Linked DNA regions of Homo sapiens: region 2 is linked to region 1. Evidence: promoter capture Hi-C in human tissues and cell types (Jung and others, 2019). All regions are on one chromosome and are shown on one strand. The core of a region is centred on a gene start or on the middle of the fragment in contact, and the rest is flanking DNA. Distances in the headings are between cores, read along the strand shown.

The links. Contacts are between HindIII fragments. The study calls those that stand out against the background at their distance.
Region 2: a fragment that was not itself captured here is called in contact with the fragment with the promoter of FBP2 in region 1 in 1 of the 25 tissues and cell types used here (dorsolateral prefrontal cortex).

The regions. Positions count from the first base shown.
Region 1 is chr9:94,592,208-94,595,251 of GRCh38, forward strand. It overlaps FBP2 (fructose-bisphosphatase 2), which reads right to left and starts at 1,617. Exons shown (of 7, transcript NM_003837.4): 1 at 1,350-1,617. The coding sequence starts at 1,519. The HindIII fragment of the contact is 6,105 bases long and covers 1,102-3,044 here.
Region 2 is chr9:96,258,803-96,261,502 of GRCh38, forward strand. The region is part of intron 2 of HSD17B3 (hydroxysteroid 17-beta dehydrogenase 3); the gene reads right to left. The region is part of intron 17 of SLC35D2-HSD17B3 (SLC35D2-HSD17B3 readthrough); the gene reads right to left. Among named protein-coding and RNA genes, the nearest start is that of HSD17B3-AS1, 14 kb to the left of the region's middle. The HindIII fragment of the contact is 4,862 bases long and covers 1-2,700 here.

The sequences.
Region 1 (3,044 bases), core at 367-2,866:
AATGAGGTAAAAACAGAGCTGAAGCATCCACCCACAGGAAAAAAGCAAGGATAATGCACCGTTAACCTGGGTCCTGCTACTGGGTCACCACCCCTAAATAAATACAGTCTGTGGTGATCAAATGATAATTACATCTTGTAATCTAATGCTATCACTTTTTGTGTTAAAAGCACTTAATTGCTCAGAGTAAATATTTTAAATGATTGGACTTTGTTAGCTCCTCATTTTGAGTCTCTTTCATCCCCAAAATATGTGTTCCTTCAGCTCCTGAGAGGACCTCCCCTGGAATTACTACAAGGGAAGCCCAAAGAAAGCTGGGGTTTTGTTTGTTTGTTTGTATGTTTTGAGATGGAATCTCGTCCTGTCACCCAGGCTGGAGTGCAGTGGTACGATCTCGACTCACCGCAACCTCCATCTCCCAGGTTCAAGCGATTCTCCTGCCTCAGCCTCCCGAGTAGCCGGGACTACAGGCGCCCGCCACCACACCCAACTAATTTTTGTATTTTTAGTAGAGACAGGGTTTCAACATGTTGGCCAGGATGGTCTTGATCTCTTGACCTCATGATCCACCCACCTTGGCCTCCCAAAGTGCCAGGATTACAGACAGGAGCCACCGTGCCTGGCCACCGGATTCTTTTTATTACAGACTTAAACTGGACACTGGGCTGTGACCATCAGCAGTGTAATGTGAACCTGGCCTCATCTATGCTCGGATAAAGCACCAAAGAGAACCCTGTGGAAGAAACCTCTGCGCTCCCCTCCCAGGACTAGCACCTCCCGGCTTCCTGCACACCAAGTGGAGGTGAAGATAAAGAAAGAGTCACAGAGAAGAAATAAAACACGTAGCCAGCAAAACACTCCTTTAGATGATGAGAGAGCAGATGCAGGAAGGGGCTCTACCAAGCTTCCTATGTCGTACATAATTTCCAGCTCCTAACATATTTGCAAAGCTTATTACAATAAAACACTCATGTCTGCAAGAGGCATAAAGAGATATTTCACGTCACCCCTCTACTTCTTTGTTCCAGTGAGACTCTCTCTGTGCAAGTACAAGTCATGATAACACAATACATATTTTAATGCAACAAGCCACTGCACTTGGTATCATTATAATAACTGGAAAAATTATATGTGTATTTCTTCATAGCATGTTTTCGTTCCTTTCTCAAAACAAGTCAAAGGCCCCTTTATCAAAGCACACATGATAGGAACTTGAAATGCAGCTTCCATCTAGGGCACACAGGGCCAATAAGCTTTGGACCCAGTTTCTTGCCAAAGCACCTGCAGCTCCCACACCCCTGCCTGGGCCTGGGGTGCTCTGTGCCCCATGCCTGCTCCCCAGGACTCACAGGTGGGCCAGACCGGCCTTGCGCACAGCCGAGGAGATGGCTTTGATGGCCGTCAGCATTGAGTTCAGCAGCTGGGTGAGCTCCCCAGTCCCTTTGGCCTGACGCCCCTTTTCCATAACGTAGCGGGTCAGGGTGAGCATGTCGGTTTCGAAGGGGCTTCTGTCCGTCATTTTGGCTGGAATGCTTCAAATCCTTTTCTCCCGGCAGGAAACCTTGCTTACTTCTGAGGGCTGCAGCTCCGCAGTGTGGAAGCCGATAAGAAATCTGTGCTGGCCCTGCCAGGATCTCTAAGGAAAAGGGCCCAAAACACATGACTCAAACAACTGCTGGGGCCCTCAAGGAACTCCCTCTGGCCTCGGGGACTGTGGCAGCTGCCAGGGAGCCGCAGCAGTCTGTAAATAGGACGGGCTGCCCAGAAACATGGAGCTGCTTTCTCCTGCTGAGCACCCCCTTTCAAGATACCAAGAAGCCACCATTTAGGCACAGGTGGGAGGTGAGAAATCCAGTTGATTAAAAAATGATGCATAAAACCCTCTTATTCCAGGCTCCAAAGGATTCTTCACATATAGTGACTGCAGGGCCTGGCTCTCCCGAGGGCGGAGGTGGCAGATTCGCAGGTTCCTTATCTGGGACGTAGGTCACATAGTAACATAATGGCAACCCCAGAATTCCTTTAGCCAGGGTTTGGAATAAGTTAGGAAAGAATGCTTTTTATTTCCAGTAGGCATGTATGACCAGTGGATATCCACAGTAGAGATCCAGATCCGGAAGAAAACTATTATATTCCTAGCACAGTTCCTGGCACCAGTGTTATTTTGTCAATATCTCTGGATGTCCACTTTTGTAACAAAAATTGCTTGTTAAAAAGGAAACACTAAAGAAGTGGATAAAGACAAACCTCCTCACCACCAGCCCATTCTCCCATCCCACTCTCCAGAAATCACTGCTGCTAGGGCTGGTGGCGGTCTGTGCAGCCAGTAGGCACTGGTGGGGTGCATATGGTGGTGGAAGCACTTTCTCTAGGGCCAGCCAGACCTGGCTGTGAGTCCCAAGCTAGCTATCTGTTGGTTGCATGATTTGAGAAAGTTATTAAACCCCTTGGAACCTCAGTTGTCTCACTCTTAAATGAGCATAACCGTGAAGCATCCATCTTATAGAGTGGCTGCAATGAGATGTACCTAGTATAGTAGGTGCTCAGTACTTTGTTACCTATTATTGCCCTTCCAGTTTTTTTTTTTTTTTTTTTTTTTTTTTTTGAGATGGAGTCTCACTCTGTCGCCCAGGCTGGAGTGCAGTGGCGTGATCTCGGCTCACTGCAAGCTCCGCCTTCCAGGTTCACGCTATTCTCCTGCCTCAGCCTCCCGAGTAGCTGGGACTACAGGCGCCTGCCACGACGCTTGGCTAATTTTTTGTATTTTTAGTAGAGACGGGGTTTCACCGTGTTAGCCAGGATGGTCTCGATTTCCTGACCTCGTGATCCGCCCGCCTCGGCCTCCCAAAGTGCTGGGATTACAGGCGTGAGCCATCACGCCCAGCCGCCCTTCCAGTCTTTCAATGTGCTCACAACTATTGTGCAATCATACATAATCTCATTTCACAAAACAGTACAACATGCACATTTCTCTGAAGGTCTTTTCCCCTGACAGTTATGTCGATTAGAATGTGTTCAGCTGCAAGAAATAGAACAACTAGAGC
Region 2 (2,700 bases), core at 143-2,642, 1.7 Mb after region 1:
GTTTTTTCATGTAAATCCTGGACATTTCTTGTTAGGTTTGTGTTAATTAGGGTAACATTAGTTGCTGTAACAAATAACTCTGCAATTTCAGCAGTTTAACACAAAAGAAGTCTGTTTCTGTCTTATGTAGCAGACCCTATTTCACATTTGGGAACCCATTCAGGACCCAAAGCTGAGAGAGGGTTTGTCATCTTTACCGCCAGGTCTCTAAGATTGCCCTGGGCTTTGCCATCCAGCTAGTGCCAGGATTGAGAGACTCTGGAGAAGATATGCCCCTCTGTTAACCACCTTGATCAAGAAGTGACCCGCATCCTTTCTGCTTGCTTTCATTTGCAGAATGAGTCGCATGGCTTCACACAGGTGTCAAGGAGCCTGGCAAGCTCCCTGCTGGGAGCCATTTACCAGCTGCAACTCCACCCTACGGAAGAGAGAGTAGGCATCTGGGTGGACAATGAGTTGTTCCTGCCACCAGGATCTTATGTTTATTCACTGCCATGATGACCTGAATTATTTTGGATAGAAGACACTTCAGGATTCAATAGGTAGGTTCAATTCCTGTCTCTACCACTTATTTCCATCAGCGCAAGTCAGTTGTTGTGGGGATCATAGAAGGGAATACATTCAAAAGTGTGTGGCGTGGCCGGGCACATTGGCTCATGCCTATAATCCCAGCACTTTGGGAGGCCGAGGTGGGCGGATCATGAGGTCAGGAGTTCGAGACCAGCCTGACCAACATGGTGAAAGCCTGTCTCTACTAAAAATATAAAAATTAGCTGGGCATGGTGGCGCATGCCTGTAGCCCCAGCTACTCAGGGGGCTGAGGCAGGAGAATTACTTGAACCCAGGAGGCTGAGCTTGCAGTGAGCCGAGATCACGCCATTGCACTCCAGCCTGGGCGACAGAACAAGACTCCGTCTCAAAAGAAAAAAAAAAAGTGTGTAGCGGAGAATCTGTCACATAAGAAGCCCTCAATTGTGTTACTTATTTTTCTATATATTCAATTTGTTATTAATTGTGAATGAGAGCTCTTTACGCAGCCACCTCGCAGAATTTTTTATTTGTTCTGATAGTCTGTTCATCAGTATTTGGTTTTCACCATAGACAATAGTATTCTCTACAAAGAGTACAGTCTTGTCCCTTTCTTTCTAATATTTGCATATTTTTGTCCTCATGATCTTGGCAGACACCTCCTATACAATGTTAAGCAGTTGCAGTAACAGCAAACATACTTGCCTTGCTCCCTACTGTCCTGAGAACACTTACAGTGTTTCTCAGGATGCAAGCATGAGCTTTCCTGTCACTTCTGGTAGATATTCTTTATCAATTTAAGAACATTTACATCTGTTCCTTTTTTCTGAATTGCTTTTTTAATAAACTGCTGGATTCAGTTTGCAAATATTTAAATTGGATCATACTTCTCTGATGCTATCCTTGTCCCATTTTGGTATCCAAGTCATGCTAATCTGTCTAGATAATTTATAAAACATGTACGGGATCAACTTGTCCCAGGAGCTTCCCAGTTTTAAAACTGAAAGTCCCACATCTGAAATCACCTTTGCAAAAATTGTAACAGTGAGAAAATTATGGCAGTGAAAGAGATCTGATCTAACCAGCCCCTTGTCTTGCCCTTAAGCTTTCAAATTGTCCTTAATTATTCTTGGGTTTGGGCCAACCTAACTTTGGGAGAGACTTAGTTTATAATTTAAATTATAATAACCCGTTCCCAAAACTCAATCACCTTGGTAAAGCTAATGAAGGGCCATCCTGGTCAACATGGTGAAACGCCATCTCTACTTTAAAAAAATACAAAAATTAGCTGGGCATGGTGGCATATGCCTATAAGTCTCAGCTACTCAGGAGGCTGAGGCAAGAAAATCGCTTGAATCCAGGAAGTGGAGGTTGTAGTGAGCCGAGATCGCACCACTGTACTCCAGCCTGGCGACAGAGTGAGACTCTATCTCAATAAATAAATAAATAAACAATAAATTTAAAGGTGAAGAGAGTAGCAACTAAGAGGAATGTGTGAAAAGGATTTCTTTGGTTCTCTCTGCTGCCAAACTGTGACTCCCATCCCCCTCAGGTCGGGTGTGGAGGGAGCATTGCCCGCCTCTCACCTCACAGTAAAGGAGAGGGCTCGCAGTAGTCCCTTCCCGTCTTGTTTCAGGTTTTATGTTCACTGTGCGCTCTTATTTTTTATTCCCCCTCTCCTTTTTTGCCTGAATTAGTTCATATAGGATAGGTAATGCTGTGGCAACAAGTTAACACTGAAATCTCAGCAGTTTAACACAACAAAAGTTTACTTCTTACTCATTATGCTCAAACTGTAGACTGATCTTTGACCCAGACCCCCCAAAAATCTAATGAGCAGGAGATTGTTGCTTCTCAGCTGCTTTGACGATGGAGCCTTCTGCTGCCAAGACTTGGTTCAGGCAGTAGAAATGTAAGTGTTTATTCATGATGTTGGCTCACTGCAACCTCAGCCTCCCAGGTTCAAGGGATTCTCCTGCCTCAGCCTCCTGAGTAGCTGGGACCATGGGCATGTGCCACCATGCCCGGCTAATTTTTGTATTTTTAGTGGAGACGGGGTTTCGCCGTGTTTCCAGGCTGGTCTCTAACTGCTGACCTCAGGTGATCCGCCCGCCTTGGCCTCCCAAAGTGCTGGGATTACAGGCATGAGCCACTGCACTTGGCCCAAAACTT